Regions from separate parts of the Homo sapiens genome. Here all the other regions are linked to region 1. Evidence: promoter capture Hi-C in 16 types of primary human blood cells and fetal thymus (Javierre and others, 2016). All regions are on one chromosome and are shown on one strand. Each heading gives the region's core, a stretch centred on a gene start or on the middle of the fragment in contact. The rest is flanking DNA. Distances are from core to core; before and after follow the strand shown.

Region 1 (5,116 bases), core at 1,733-4,232:
ATACCTGTAATCCCAGCACTTTGGGAGGCCGAGGCAGATGAATCACTTGAGGTCAGGAGTTCAAGACTAGCCTGGCCAACATGGTGAAACCCCGTCTCTATTAAAAATACAAAAATTGGGCTGGGCGTTGAGGCTCACGCCTGTAATCTCAGCACTTTGGGAGGCCACAGTGGGAGGATCATGAGGTCAGGAGTTCAAGACCAGCCTGACCAACATGGTGGAACCCCATCTCTACTAAAAAAACAAAAATTAGCTGGGTGTGGTGGTGCATACCTGTAATCCCAGCTACTCAAGAGGCTGAGGCAGGAGAATCACTTGAATTCAGGAGGTGGAGGTTGCAGTGAGCTGTGATGGCGCCACTGCACTCTAGCCTGGGTGACAGAGCAAGACTCCATCTCAAAAAAAATTACAAAAATTGGCTGGGCGCAGTGGCTCACGCCTATAATCCCAGCATTTTGGGAGGCCGAGGCGGGAGGATCACGAGGTCAAGAGATCAAGACCATCCTGGCCAACATGGCGAAACCCTGTCTCTACTAAAAATACAAAAATTAGCCAGGCGTGGTGGCATGCACCTGTAGTCTCAGCTACTTGAGAGGCTGAGGCAGGAGAATTGCTTGAACCCGGGAGGCGGAGGTTGTAGTGAGCCGAGATTGTGCCACTGCACTCCAGCTCTGGCAACAGAGCAAGACTGAGTCTCAAAAAAAAAAAAAAAAAAAAAAAAAGGCCGTGTGTGGTGGCAGGTGCCTGTAATCCCAGCTACTCGGGAGGCTGAGGTACAAGAATCACTAGAACCTGGGAGGCGGAGGTTGCAGTGAGCAGAGATAACGCCACTGCACTCCAGCCTGGGCGACAGAGTGAGACTAGGTCAAAAACAAAACTAAACAAAACAAAAAAAACACCAGAGAGTCTCAAGAAGAGAAGTTATTGTGTTTGAGATAGGCCAAGAATACAAGATCAGTCTCATGGGTCTTCCAGTCTCCAGAAAGGGCTGACCCCACAAGGAAAACACATACAGCTATCTGTACAAGGAGGGAAGAATCCACAGAGACGCAGGAGAGCCATCGATCTAGAACAAAGTCATAGCTTTTGATATTAGGGAAGCAGAACAGAAGGAGCCACTCAGATTGTAGCTGCAAGATTTTTATAGCCTGTGTTCTGCTCTGGGCTTGCGTAATAGCCAGGAAGGTGGGAGGGCTCAAAAGGTCAGGCTGGAGTTCCACGCAGTTCCAAGAAGCTAGGCTGCTCTCTAGCCTCTAGATGAGAGCCAGGTGGGGGAGGCACCATAAGTCTTCAGGCTACCCTTAGCCAGCACTGATGTTCTCAGCTCATGGGACTAAAGGATTAGGGAGACATCCAGGAGGCTGCTTCTGTCCAAGGTCTCATCCCTCCCTGTTCTCTAGGAATTTGAGCCTCCAGCCCGACACTGTCTCAAGGCCTGGGTGTGCCTCTGCAATATGCCCAACCCACCATGTGGACTGTCCACCAAGAAACACACAAGGAAGGCTTGCCGAAAGCACACTTCTACTGGAGTTGCACACACAGACTAATATACTTTCCTGTCCTCACAGATAAGAGCAGACCTAATTATGTCCTGGCTCAATTTACCCCTCCTCCAATCAGGCTGCCCAGGGCTGGCTAGAGCCCAGCCTGAGAAAAATGAAGGGAATGACCCCAACAATGGATTCCCACACTTACTAACATTTCTTTCTGTTTTTCCAAACCATTCCCTTTCCATTTACTATCTGGAGATGAGGGTTGCCCTGGTGAGCTCTGGGGAAGGACACAGGAGAAAGGAGAGAGGTGAAAATTCAAAGCAAGGCTGAGAAAGATATGACACCCTAAGCTCCACTGGGTACCCCTACCCCAGAATTGAGTAGTCCACTTCTGTGCGCAAGGTTCAGTTGTCGCTCTAAGTGGCAGGGAGGGCGTAAGGAACAGCAGCCAGGTACCCTCTGAAGCCCTGGGAGGACCACTCACTGGGGAAACCCCGGAATGGCTGAGAGGCTGGGAACCCAGCCTTGCAGGGTTTCAAACAAACACCAATGAGAAAGAAAAAAGACGGGGGAATACTTGGTTGTTCCTCATCTCTACATATTAGGATCCACCCCAGCAAGACTCCTTTCTTCCAAAGCAGATGACCCACCAAGTCCCCAGGTTCCTCCCGTCTGCCATCCCTACACCTCCCCTCTTTTCTGGAATCAAGCTCAGTGTGACGACGTCTCCCCTTCATCCAACGTCAGCTGAGTTTGCCCTCAACCCAGTTTGAGAAGCAAACCCATCCTTCCCCGATTATCAGACTAAGGCAGACTCCGCAGGCTCTCAGACCCCGGAGACCCCCAACAGGAAGACGCGCTGGGTGAGGGGTGGGAGGGAGGGGCAGGGGAGGGGCGTGTGGGGGAGGAACGGAAACGACGGCCTTTGTTTATCGCTCAGGGACCCAGCTGATCCCATCTAGGGGATCGCTAGCCGGGCACCCGCCCTTCTGCCCGGACGGAGGCCTCCGTCGCCCGCCGCTGGCCCAGGCATGGTTTGACGGCACTCTGAGACCAGGTGGGCTCGGACCCCAACCTCCCCGTCTCCCGCAACCCCCGCTTCTCCTCGCCGGGGCCCCGCACTCACAATACACTCGCGGATCCTCTCGTGGAATAGCTGTTCTCGCACGGATAGCACTTCGTAGTCAGGTGCTTCCATACTCTGCTCAGCATGACTGAAGCCGAGGTGCCTCTGGGCCCGGGGAGGACGAGCGGGGAGGAAGCCGCCGCCGCCAAGCACCCAGACCCAGCCTAGGGGCCTTTCCTCGCAGCCTGCGACAGAAACTCGGGGCAGTCTGGGGCTCAGATACAGTCGTCCGGACGCCCCGCCCTTAAAGGGGCAGGCACCACCCGCCTCGTTTTAAAGGGCTCTGTCCTCCCTTTGCTCCCCACTCTTTAAGGTCGGGTCGCGCTCACGTTTCAATGCAAACACCCGCCACTAGGCTCGCTACGAGGAAGCGCCGCTGAGGGTCCATCTTTTTAAGAGATCTAGTGACGACACAAGGGATGGGCGGGTTCCTTCCAGGGGGAGGAACTCATTGGCTCCTGGAGAGCTGTCGTTCATCGCTGGAGGAGCGCTGATAGGCTCGCCCTGTGGAGGAAGGCGGGATCTTTTGGGCCTACCGCTGCCCATACTAATAGAGCAACTGTCTCTCTTATCTGGGAAAAGTGAAGGTTCCTGGATTTTAGTAGCAGCCAACATTTTAGTATGACCTTGGTTAAATGAACCGTTTGAAGCAGGCCAGCCAGGCAGGATGTGAGGGCACCCTAGGGGTTCTGAAATGTACCGCTGCCCAGTAACCGATGTTCTGTAGTAGCATTTTCTGTGTGTTTGTGTTGGGGTGCCCCTCCCCACATCCCCACCCCGCTTTCCCGCTGCCAGGAGTTTTCATTCAATCATTTTTGTGGAAGACCTAGTGTGTGCTAGAACAAATACTGAAAAATACTGGAGAGAGGACTACAGAAATACCTTGCAACTTTGTGAAGAAATGCCCACAAGGATCACTGAAGAGTGGGGCTGAGTCAAACATTAGCTAACCACTTACTATGTGCCATTCACTTTATAGTCGTTATCTCAGCCATGTTACCCAGGCTGATCTCGGACTCCTAGTCTCAAAGTGATGGGCCTCCCAAAGTACTGGGATTACAAGGCGTGACCCACCCAGCCTATTATCTCATTTTTAACGTCACAACAACACTTCAGAGGAAGATGTTGTGATTCAGCTTTTATTTCTTTATTTATTTTTGAGACGGAGTTTCGCTCTTATTGCCCAGGCTGCAGTGCAATGGTGTGATTTCGGCTCACTGCAACCTCCGCCTCCCGGGTTCAAGCGATTCTCCTTCCTCAGCCTCCCAAGTAACTGGGATTACAGGCATGCGCCACCGCGCCCAGCTAATTTTGTATTTTTAGTAAAGACGTGGTTTCTCCATGTTGGTCAGGCTCATCTTGAACTCCCAACCTTAGTTGATCCGCCCGCCTCGGCTTCCCAAAGTGCTGGGATTACAGGCGTGAGCCACCACGTCCGGCCAAGATTTTGTGTGTGTGTGTGTGTGTGTGTGTGTGTGTGTGTGTGTGTGTGTGTGTGTGTGTGTGTGTCTTGGAAGTAGACAGGATTTAGACGAAGGGAGATTTTCTTTTAAGTTATTTATTTTTGAGACAGTCTCACTCTGTCGCCCAGGCTGGTGTGCAGTGGTGCGATCACGACTCACTGTAGCCTCCAACTCCAAGGCTCAAGTGATCTTCCCATCTCAGTCTCTTGAGCAGCTGGGATCACAGGCAGGCACCAGCACACTTAGCTGATTCTGCCATGTTGCTCAGTCTGGTCTTGAACTCCTGGGCCCAAGCTGTCGGCCTGCCTTGACCTCCCAAAGTGCAGGGATTACAGGCGTGAGCCAACAGACCCGACCTCCTCTAAATTCTTAAAGCAACATCCAGCTGCATAGTTCAGTGAGCAGTTAAAAATTGGCCATTAGCCGCGCGCGGTGGCTCACGCCTGCAATCCCAGTACTTTGGGAGGCTGAAGCGGGCGGATCAAGAGGTCAGGAGATCGAGACCATCCTGCCTAACACGGTGAAACCCCATCTCTACTTAAAACATAAAAAATTAGCCGGGCGTGGTGGCAGGTGCCTGTAGTCCCAGCTACTCGGGAGGCTGAGGGAGGAGAATGGCGTGAACCCGGGAGGCGGAGCTTGCAGTGAGCCGAGATCGCGCCACTGCACTCCAGCCTGGGTGACAGAGCGAGACTCCATCTCAAAAAAAAAAAAAAAAGAAAAGAAAAAGAAATTGGCCATAAGACCGGGCGCGGTGACTCATGCCTGTAATCCTAGCACTTTGGGAGGCCGAGACGGGTGGATTACCTGAAGTCAGGTGCTGAGAGCAGCTCGGTCGGGGAGACCCTAACCCAGCGGCACTAGAGGAATTAAAGACACACAGAAATATAGAGATGTGAAGTGGGAAATCAGGGGTCTCACAGCCTTCAGAGCTGAGAGCCAGGAACAGAGATTTACCCAACAGCAAGCCAGTCATTAGCATTGTTTCTATAGATATTAGATTAACTGAAAGTATCCCTTATGGGAAACAAAGG
Region 2 (5,116 bases), core at 1,068-3,567, 220 kb after region 1:
GAAACAGGATGTGAGGAGACCAGGCTAGGGGGCACTGAGGGGGGCATCCTGAGCAGTGCTGACAGCCTCTGTTGGTGTCCCAGGGTGTTCGGGCCTCTGCATATTTGGCCCCCAGAACCCCCACCCACCGACTGGACCCTGCCAGGGCTTCCTGCTTCTCTAGGCTGGAGGGACCAGGACCTCGAGGCCGGACATTGTGCCCCCAGAGGCTACAGGCTCTGGTGAGTGCCCTTGAGGGGCTGATAGTCGGTGCTTCTGGGAGCTCCTTCCAGGGACAAAGCTGGGCTCTGGGAGAAGAGGTACCTCATGATGAGGCAAGGGATCCTACTGGGGGAGATGGGGTTGGTGGTGAGGCCTGAGGGTTTGGGGTCCACCTCTGATTCCGTTTTCATCTCTTGCTCCTGTGGATCAGATTTCACCTTCAGGACCTTCCTTTCACCCTTCCACTCGCCCCAGTTTCCAGGAGCTAAGAAGGGAGACAGCTGGCAGCAGCCGGTGAGAAAGGAGAGGGTGTGGGAGAAGGTCATCTGGAAAAGAATGAACCAGTGTCTGATACAGGAGTCCCCCAGAGTTGGGGCCTTCCAGGAGCTTTAGGACTCCCCACCAACTCAGGAGGGGAAGCAAGAAACCTGTGATTACCCGGGATGAGCCCTTGGGATAGGGTTCAGGCTTTCACAGCCAGGCCTCAGTGTGACATCAGTTTACTCAAGTCATGGGGGGACAGGGAGGACAGAAATGTGCTATCTCTTTTGTTTAGTGGCTAGAGTATAGACTGTGGCAATAAGTGGGATTTGGGTTTATATCCTAACTCTTAACACTTACTATTTGTGCAAGCTTGCCTTCACCTCTCTGAGCTTTGGTTTCTTTGTCAAGTGAGAATAACATTTGTACCATCATTAGTTGTCATGAGAATGAAATGAGATGATGTTTGTAAAGCACTTAGCACATGTCCAGCTCATACTTGGTATTCAGTGACTGCTGGCTAATGTCCTTATTGTCATCAGGACTTCAGTGAGCCAGGCCTCAGGATTGCTCCTGGAGACCCCAGTCCAGCCTGGTAAGTGTTTCTGGCGTGGGGAGAGAACAGGGGCAGTTGGGCTGCCTGAAGCAGGGAACAAGACCAGAGAAAACTCAGCAGGCTGGGAGGGAGCATGAGGAAGTGGGAGGCCGGGAGGCTAGGTCAGAAGGAGAAGGAGAAGAGACCTTCTAGATAGGCCAGCGATTGGCACAGTTGCACTTTTGTCTAAGGAGATGGTCTCCATTTCGGCCCTCTCTCTGCCACTTCCTGCAAGATTTATCTTCCACTCACTGTTTATCCCCAGCCCCTAAGTGCCATCACCACATCCCCAGCCTACTCAGACGTTCAGATTAATAAGTGTTTACTGAGATAGTGTTGGGTGTTGAGGGGCTGCTGGATGGGTTCCTGTCCCTAATAGTGCAATGGGGCCTATTAAACTAATATACCCTCTTCAGAAGTTGCAGAACACTGTGCCAAACTTTGGTGGGTGTTCTAGAGTCTACAACAAATGTCCTGTTTCTTCCTAGCTTTCTCTCTTCCTAAAGGAGAACGCGAGGTTGTCACTCACTCAGATGAAGGAGGTGTGGCCTCTCTTGGTCTGGCCCAGCGAGTACCATTAAGAGAAAACCGAGAAATGTCACATACCAGGGTGAGATGCGACTCTCCTGGGATGGTGGGTGGGAGGTGCAGGAGTTGCTTGGAAGAATTTTGCTGCAGCAGCCAACACTGAGAATTGTAGGTAGAGCCAGGAAGTCCTGGGCCTCAGGATGTTACTGGGTAGGTTTACCCCAGATGCACCCAGTCCCTCTCCAATGTGAGACTGACCTCTCTTTATCAGATGTCTGGGGCCTAGGGTGAGAGGTCATATTTGTATCACCATCAGATCAGTGCTAAGGGTGAGACAGATCTGACACTTGTCAGCCAAAAGCATTCATCCCTTGGCTCCACAAATATTTACTGAGTAGCACCAGCCTACTGAGTGCCAGGCTCTGTTCTAGGCTCTGGACATATAGCAGTAAACAAGTTCATATTCTAGAAGGGGGAGACAAGAAATAAACACAGGTATAAAATAAATAGTGTCTCAGATGATGGTAAGTTCTCTCTAAAATAATAATAATAATAATAATAAGGCACTAAAGGAGAATTGGGAGCAGGGGAGTTGGTATTGCAATTTAAAATAGATTTGTCAGGGAACTCTTACTGAGAAGATGATGTTTAAGTGAAGACCAGGGGTTGGAGGAGGAGTGAGATATGTTGATATCTGGGGGAAGGAACATTCCAGGCCAAGAGAACTGAAGAGGTAAAGGCCCTGGGGAGGGAATGTGCCTGGTGTGTTTGAGGATCAGCAAAAAGGAGAGGCCAGTGAGATTGAAGCAGAGTAAGAAGAACAGTAGGAGATAGGGTTTTAGCGATAACACGATCAGATTGGGTAAGGAATTGTACACCAGTGTAAGTCTTTGGCTTGTCTTGGAATGAGTGGAAAGCCATGGGGAGAGGGGTTGATCAAGAAAGTGACATGATTTGACTTAGGTCTTTTTTTTTTTTTTTTTTTTTTTTTTTGAGATGGAGTTTCACTCTTGTTGCCCAGGCTGGAGTGCAATGGCACGATCTCCGCTCATTGCAACCTCTGCCTCCTGGGTTCAAGTGATTCTCCTGCCTCAGCCTCCGAGTAGCTGGGAATACAGGCATGCACCACCACGCCTGGCTAATTTTGTATTTTTAGTAGAGACAGGATTTCTCCATGTTGGTCAAGCTGGTCTCAAACTCCTGACCTCAGGTGCTCCACCCTCCTCGGCTTCCCGAAGTGCTGGGATTACAGGCCTGAGCCACCATGCCCGGCTTGACTTAGGTCTTAAAAGAATCACACTGGCTGCTGTAGTGAGAACACGATATAGGAAGACAGCCAGGCGTGGTGGCTTACTCCTGTAATCCCAGCACTTTGGGAGGCCGAGGCGGGCAGATCACGAGGTCAGGAGATCGAGACCATCCTGGCTAACATGGTGAAACCCCATCTCTACTAAATATACAAAAAATTAGCCGGGCATGGTGGCGGGCACCTGTAGTCCCAGCTACTCGGGAGGCTGAGGCAGGAGAATGGTGTGAACCCGGGATGCGGAGCTTGCAGTGAGCCAAGATCGCGCCACTGGACTCCATCCTGGGTGACAGAGCGAGACTCCGTATCAAAAAAAAAAATAGGAAGACAAAGGGGGCGGGGATCACTCTTCCACCTTTTTCTTCTTCACAGGACAGCCATGACTCCCACCTGATGCCCTCCCCTGCCCCTGTGGCCCAGCCCTTGCCTGGCCATGTGGTGCCATGTCCATCACCCTTTGGACGGGCTCAGCGTGTACCCTCCCCAGGCCCTCCAACTCTGGTTTGTGTCAACAACTGGGGGCTGGGCAGGGGCAGAACAGTCTGGCCGGAGATCCTTGCTATGTCTGGGTTTTGTCCCTGCTCAGCCACCCACATCTCTCCCCAGACCTCATATTCAGTGTTGCGGCGTCTCACCGTTCAACCTAAAACCCGGTTCACACCCATGCCATCAACCCCCAGAGTTCAGCAGGTAAGAGAGGGCATGGAGAGGTGGCTGGCATAAGTCACAGCTAGGGGAGAAAGGAGATGGATGGGTACAGGAGAGAGAAGACAGAAGCAAGGGGAGGCTGAGTGCCATCTGTGGGTGTCAGCCCTTGCTGACATCTCACTTCTGTGCCAGGCCCAGTGGCTGCGTGGTGTCTCCCCTCAGTCCTGCTCTGAAGATCCTGCCCTGCCCTGGGTAAGTATCAGAAGCTTCCCCCTACTGAGATCCCTTGCCCTGTGCTGCCAGCCTGGAGGCCCAGGAGTTTGAGGCACACGTGCTTTCTGGGCCAGGCATGGTGGCTCACACCTGTAATCCCAGCACTTTGGGAGGCTGAGGTAGGAGGATTGCTTGAGCTCAGATCTTTGAGACCAGCCTGGGCAACATAGTGAGACCCTGTCTCCACTAAAATTTTAAAAATTAGAAAGTGCTCTCTGGAAAAGCTGCCTAACTCTCACTGCTTCTCTGCTGCCCCTCCTAATGTACATCTAGGGCCTCTCAGTTAGGGGCTTCAATCCATTCCTCATGAGGGTGGGACTCAGGCTGGTCTTTCTCCTGCCCCAGCCTGGCTTGCTTGTGTGCCTTGTTCCTTGGTGACAGGAGCAGGTTGCCGTCCGGTTGTTTGACCAGGAGAGTTGTATAAGGTCACTGGAGGGTTCTGGGAAACCACCGGTGGCCACTCCTTCTGGACCCCACTCTAACAGAACCCCCAGCCTCCAGGAGGTGAAGATTCAAGTGAGTCTGTGTGGCCAACAGCTTTGATGTCTATTGAACAGTGACTGGGCTGAGGAAGAGGGAAAAGAGATGGGGGATCAGGAATAGGACAGTGTGGGTAGACTACTGAACGCACATCTTGATGTCACACTGGGGTGCTCTCTCCCACCACAGCGCATCGGTATCCTGCAACAGCTGTTGAGACAGGAAGTAGAGGGGCTGGTAGGGGGCCAGTGTGTCCCTCTTAATGGAGGCTCTTCTCTGGATATGGTTGAACTTCAGCCCCTGCTGACTGAGATTTCTAGAACTCTGAATGCCACAGAGCATAACTCTGGGACTTCCCACCTTCCTGGACTGTTAAAACACTCAGGGCTGCCAAAGCCCTGTCTTCCAGAGGAGTGCGGGGAACCACAGCCCTGCCCTCCGGCAGAGCCTGGGCCCCCAGAGGCCTTCTGTAGGAGTGAGCCTGAGATACCAGAGCCCTCCCTCCAGGAACAGCTTGAAGTACCAGAGCCCTACCCTCCAGCAGAACCCAGGCCCCTAGAGTCCTGCTGTAGGAGTGAGCCTGAGATACCGGAGTCCTCTCGCCAGGAACAGCTTGAGGTACCTGAGCCCTGCCCTCCAGCAGAACCCAGGCCCCTAGAGTCCTACTGTAGGATTGAGCCTGAGATACCGGAGTCCTCTCGCCAGGAACAGCTTGAGGTACCTGAGCCCTGCCCTCCAGCAGAACCCGGGCCCCTTCAGCCCAGCACCCAGGGGCAGTCTGGACCCCCAGGGCCCTGCCCTAGGGTAGAGCTGGGGGCATCAGA
Region 3 (5,116 bases), core at 1-2,500, 130 kb after region 1:
CGGGAGGTAGAGCAGTGGGATATTCCACTTGTGTGGCACAAGTCAGTCCCTTGAAACTGTTTTCTCTTGTTGTTCTGCTTATTTCAGTTGCTTGTTTGCTAGGAGGGTGCCTCCACCCTCAGAGCACAGACACACACACACACACACACACACACACACACACACACACACCCTGCCTTTTTCCTCACAGACATCCCAAGAGCATTCTCTGAGCATTATTTTTGGGGACGCCAATATAAAAAGGCTGCCCACTCCCCTGGCAGTTGAACTCAGGATTCAAATATTTATGTTTGGCAAAAAGCAAGGGGAAAACTTTTCTGGAGATGACCTCTCCCTTGACTTTCAGCTTGTTCTATAATTGGGCTTTTGAGAATATGTGACCATTCTCTGAAAAAAAAAAAAAAAAAAAGAAAGAAACACTAAATTCAGTAGTTTCTATCTGGACCCTAGAGTTAAGTGTGTCCCTCACATTGAAATCCTGATTCCACAGAGGAACTGCCTTAAAAATATCAATTCAACTCATTTTTGTGTTTTCAGTATAGATCAGTCCTCTTCTCTCCTCTCCCCACAAAATATCAGGCTTATCAGAGGGTCTTGGCTTTCTGGCCACTTCCTGGACCCCCACAGGGTGCCCCTGCTGTGAGTTGGCAGCACCTCCAAGTTCCCCATTGTGGCTCTTTTATCTACTTATTTATTTTTGGGACAGGGTCTCTCTCTGTCACCCATGCTCGAGTGCAGTGGTGCGAACACTGCTCAGTGCAACTTCGACCTCCCGGGCTCAAGTGGTCCTTCTGCCTCAGCCTTCCGAGTAGCTGGCACTACAGGCGTGCACCACCACACTGGACTAATTTTTTTTATTATTATTTTTTTGTAGAGATGGACTCTCACTACATTGTCCAGGCTGTTCTTGAACTCCTGGGTTCAAGCGGTTCTCCCACCTCAGCCTCACAAAGTGTTGGGATTACAGGCATTAGCCACTGCCCCCAGCCCATCATAGCTCTTTTTTTCTTTTTGAGATGGAGTCTCACTCTGTCACCCAGGCTGGAGGGCAGTGGCGAGATCTCAGCTTACTGTAATCTCTGCCTCCTGGGTTCAAGCGATTCTCCCGCCTCAGCCTCCCAAGTAGCTAGGACTATAGGAGTGCACCACCACGGCCAGCAAATTTTTGTATTTTTAGTCGAGACAGGGTTTCACCATGTTGGCCAGGCTGGTCTTGAACTCCTGACCTCAGGTGAACCGCCCGCCTCGGCCTCCCAAAGTGCTAGGATTACAGGCTTGAGCCACCATGCCTGGTCCCATCTTAGCTCTTATAATACCATATATAATATGATTTATCTGTGTCTTCCATACCAGACACTTAAATTTTATGAGAATGGGGCCAAGATTATCATGTTCATTTTGCACCCCCAGTGCCTAACTAGTGCCTCAGACCAGGCAAATGTTAGGTAGGATTCAACACTGAGATGGGAGGGAAAGGTGTTTCCATTGGAGGAACTGGCAGGACCACATACAAAGGTATAGACCTGGAAGAGTGACAAGGAGCATGAATGTGGTTTGCTTCAGCCTGAAGGGACTGACAGGAGGTAAGATGGGGTGATTATGATGTGAGTGTGAGTTTAAGGCAGTGGTCATCAGAACTTGAAATAGTTACAATTCATGCAATTTCTGGTGTATGATAAATGCTTTACACATATTTTCCTCCCCTCCCTCCCTCCCTCCCTGCCTTCCTTCCTCCCTTCCTTTCTTCCTTCCTTCCTTCCTTTTTTGAGAGTCTCGCTCTGCCCCCAGGCTGGAGTGCAATGGCGCGATCTCAGCTCACTGCAACCTCTGCCTCCCGGATTCAAGCAATTCTCCTGCCTCAGCCTCCCAAGTAGCTGGGACTACAGGCGCACGCCGACACGCCCGGCTAATTTTTTGTATTTTAGTAGAGATTGGGTTTTACTATGTTGCCCAGGCTGGTCACGAACTCCTGAGCTTGGGCAATCCGCTCACCTCAGCCTCCCAAAGTGCTAGGATTACAGGTGTGAGCCACTGTGCCCAGCCTTTATACATATTTTCATCAAAACTTAGAGCCTTCTTTCTTTCTTTTTTTTTTTTTTTGAGACAGAATTTCATTCTTGTTGCCCAGGCTGGAGTGCAGTGGCGTGATCTCAGCCCACTGCAGCCTCCGCCTCCTGGATTCAAGTGATTCTCCTGCCTCAGCCTCCCGAGTAACTGGGATTACAGGTGCCCGCCACCACACCTGGCTAATTTTTTGTATTTTTGGTAGAGATGGGGTTTCACCATGTTGGCCAGGCTGGTTTTGTACTCCTGGCCTCAAGCAATTCACCTGTCTTGGCCTCCCAAAGTTCTGGGATTACAGGTGTGAGCCACTGCACCCGGCCAAAAGTTTACAGCCTTCTTAGACAAGGTGGCATGAGGAAAAAAATGTGGTTTGGAGCCACAGATCTAGCTCCTTCCATTTGTAGAAAATATTACTTAACTAGCAAAACCAGTCCCCATGGCCAAACCAATCAGTCAAATGGAGTTATTTTGTTTTTTTGTTTTGTGTTGTGTGTGTTTTTGTTTTGTTTTGTGTTGAGATGGGGTCTTGCTCTGTCACTCAGGCTGGAGTGCAGTGGCACAATCCTAGCTCACTGCAGCCTCAAATCCCCAGGTTCAAGCAATCCTCCCACCTCAGCCTCCCGAGTAGCTGGGACTGAAGGTGCACACCACCACACCCAGCTAATTTCCAGCTAATTTTTTTGTTGTTGTTGTTATTTATACAGACAGGGTCTCCCTGTGTTGCCCAGGCTGTTCTCAAACTCCTAGTCTCAAGCAATCCTCCTGCCTCGGCCTCCCAAAGTGCTGGGAATACAGGTATGAGCTACCGCGCCTGGCTCATCTGTGACTTCTAATTCTGTTGTTGTTGTTTTGAGACAGGGTCTTACTCTGTTGCCCAAGCTGCAGTGCAATGGTGTGATCTCAGCTCACTGCAACCTCTGCCTCCCAGGCTCAAGCTGATCCTCCCACCTTAGTGGCCTGAGTAGCTGGGACTACAGGCGCATGCACCACCACACCCAGCTAATTTTTGTATTTTTAATAGAGACAGGGTTTTTGACATGTTGCTCGGGCTGGTCTCGAACTTCTAGGCTCAAGTAATCTGCCTGCCTCAGCCTCTGGAAGTGCTGGGATTACAGGTGTGAACCACCGTGCCCGGTCGTGACTTCCAATTCTAAGAAGCTTGCCGTGAATTTGTTAAGATGAAATAAGGTGCAGGCTGGTTGCGGTGGCTCATGCCTGTAATCCTAGCACTTTGGGAGGACAAGGTGGGCGGATCACCTGAGGTCAGGAGTTCAAGACCAGCCTGGCCAACATGGAGAAAACCCCATCTCTACTAAAAATACAAAAAATAGCTGGTGGCGCGCGCCTGGAGTCCCAGCTACTAGCCAAGCTAAGGCGGGAGAATTGGTTGAATCTGGGAGACAGAGGTTGCAGTGAGCCAAGATTGCACCACTGCCCTACAGCCTGGGTGACAGTGTGAGACTCCATCTCCAGAAAAAAAAAGAAATCAGGTGCTACCCTGTGAGTGCTTCTTACTTGGCTCTCAGGAGCTCCTCCGTCAGTCATGATGCTTCTCCAATTATCCCTTTGCTTGGGAACATCGCACATAGCATAGTTCAGGATGGCTAAGGGATAGCTTTTTGTTTTTGATTTTTATTATTTTATCTATTTATTTATTTTGAGACAGAGTCTTGCTCTATCGCCCAGGCTGGAGTGCAGTGGTGCAATCATGGTTCACTACAGCCTCAATCTTTTTGCTGTGAAGGCTAAGAGGACTTGGGAAGGGGAGGCTGGAAAAGAAAAATCAGCTCATTGCAAACCATTCTCAGGCAGTTCCCTTTAAGGAAAGGGTACATTTGGTGGTTTAGAACCTGGAAATTGAGACTTGTAATACTATCTCATTAAAAGAAAAACTTTAGGCCAGGCATGGTGGCTCGTGCCTATAATCCCAGTGCTTTGGGAGACCAAGGTGGGAGGATCTCTTGCTGTCAGGATGTCAAGACCAGTCTGGGCCACACAGCGAGATCCCGTATCTACAAATAATTTAAAAATTACCTGGGTGTGGTGGCGGGCACCTGTAATCCCAGCTACTCGGGAGGCTGAGGCACGATAATCACTTGAACCCAGGAGGTGGAGGTTGCAGTGAGCCGAGATTGTGCCACTGCACTCCAGCCTTGGTGACAGAGTGAGACTCTGTCTCAAAAAAAAAAAAAAAAGAAAAAAAAATCTGCTTTAAAACATGTATTGCCTGCAGAAACAGCTGAATTTTCAGCAAGGCCCTAAATGGGGCTCTAAATGGCCTCACCACTCACCACAGTATTTTCATTTTCAAATTCCACACATTGTTTGGTCATGTTTCTCCTTCTCCATCTTTTACCACAAAATGGATGTTTCCCTTCTGATTTGGGAGACTATGTCTTCTTAGAAGAAACATCTAAAAATGGGAAAGCTTGTGATTAAGAAGAATTTACATCTATAGTCGTGGTCTTTTGAAGATATCTACGGTATCTTCAAAATGTTCAAATGTCCAGGGAAGAAGGAAGTTAAGGGAAGTAATTTGAGTAGCTTCCCTATTTTTAGAAATTCTATTATGACCAAATTTTCCCAGAGAGGTATTTTTTTTTTTCTTTTGAGATGGAGTTTCATTCTTGTTGCCCAGGCTGGAGTTCAATGGCATGATCCCAGAGAGGGGATTCTTTAGAGTTCACAAAGTACATCATAATAAGGCATAATAATACCTTATAGTTGTGTCTAATGGATATAATATCAAAGAGTTTTCATGATCTTATCCCTGCATTCCCACCAGTCATGTCTCCACTGTGTGTAAGGATGGAAAATGAGATTGAAGGCCATCCCAGACTCACAGTCTGAACAGGAGCTCAGACCTCCTGACAAATACTATGTTGGGAAAGGACTCTGAAGCATCCTCCCAGATGCTTGCTCAGACCACACCTTCCTTATAATAACTTTATAATAACACCCCAGGTATTATTTTAGCTATTTAACAGAAAAAAAACAAGACTTGGAGAAGATAAATATACTCATCAAGTACACAGTGACTAAGTGGCAGAGC

Evidence for each region. The method cuts DNA at HindIII sites, captures the fragments that hold promoters and counts their contacts. A CHiCAGO score of 5 or more calls a contact.
Region 2: a fragment that was not itself captured here is called in contact with the fragment with the promoter of LMBR1L in region 1 in 1 of 17 cell types (neutrophils); the score reaches 5.7 in neutrophils.
Region 3: a contact is called between a fragment that was not itself captured here and the fragment with the promoter of LMBR1L in region 1, in 11 of 17 cell types (neutrophils, total B cells, M0 macrophages and 8 more). The highest score is 13.5, in neutrophils.

What each region holds. Positions count from the first base shown.
Region 1 is chr12:49,107,865-49,112,980 of GRCh38, forward strand. It overlaps LMBR1L (limb development membrane protein 1 like), which reads right to left and starts at 2,983. Exons shown (of 17, transcript NM_018113.4): 1 at 2,620-2,983. The coding sequence starts at 2,691. RefSeq lists an enhancer at 2,152-2,691 and a silencer at 3,549-3,729. The HindIII fragment of the contact is 30,486 bases long and covers 1-5,116 here.
Region 2 is chr12:49,325,664-49,330,779 of GRCh38, forward strand. TROAP (trophinin associated protein) reads left to right here. Exons shown (of 15, transcript NM_005480.4): 5 at 84-221; 6 at 413-495; 7 at 1,005-1,057; 8 at 1,546-1,667; 9 at 3,264-3,392; 10 at 3,498-3,581; 11 at 3,732-3,791; 12 at 4,194-4,328; 13 at 4,482-5,116. Among named protein-coding and RNA genes, the nearest start is that of TROAP-AS1, 3.6 kb to the left of the region's middle. RefSeq lists an enhancer at 4,807-5,116. The HindIII fragment of the contact is 2,971 bases long and covers 833-3,803 here.
Region 3 is chr12:49,239,907-49,245,022 of GRCh38, forward strand. It overlaps a transcript of TUBA1C not described here. Among named protein-coding and RNA genes, the nearest start is that of TUBA1C, 23 kb to the right of the region's middle. The HindIII fragment of the contact is 3,939 bases long and covers 1-3,220 here.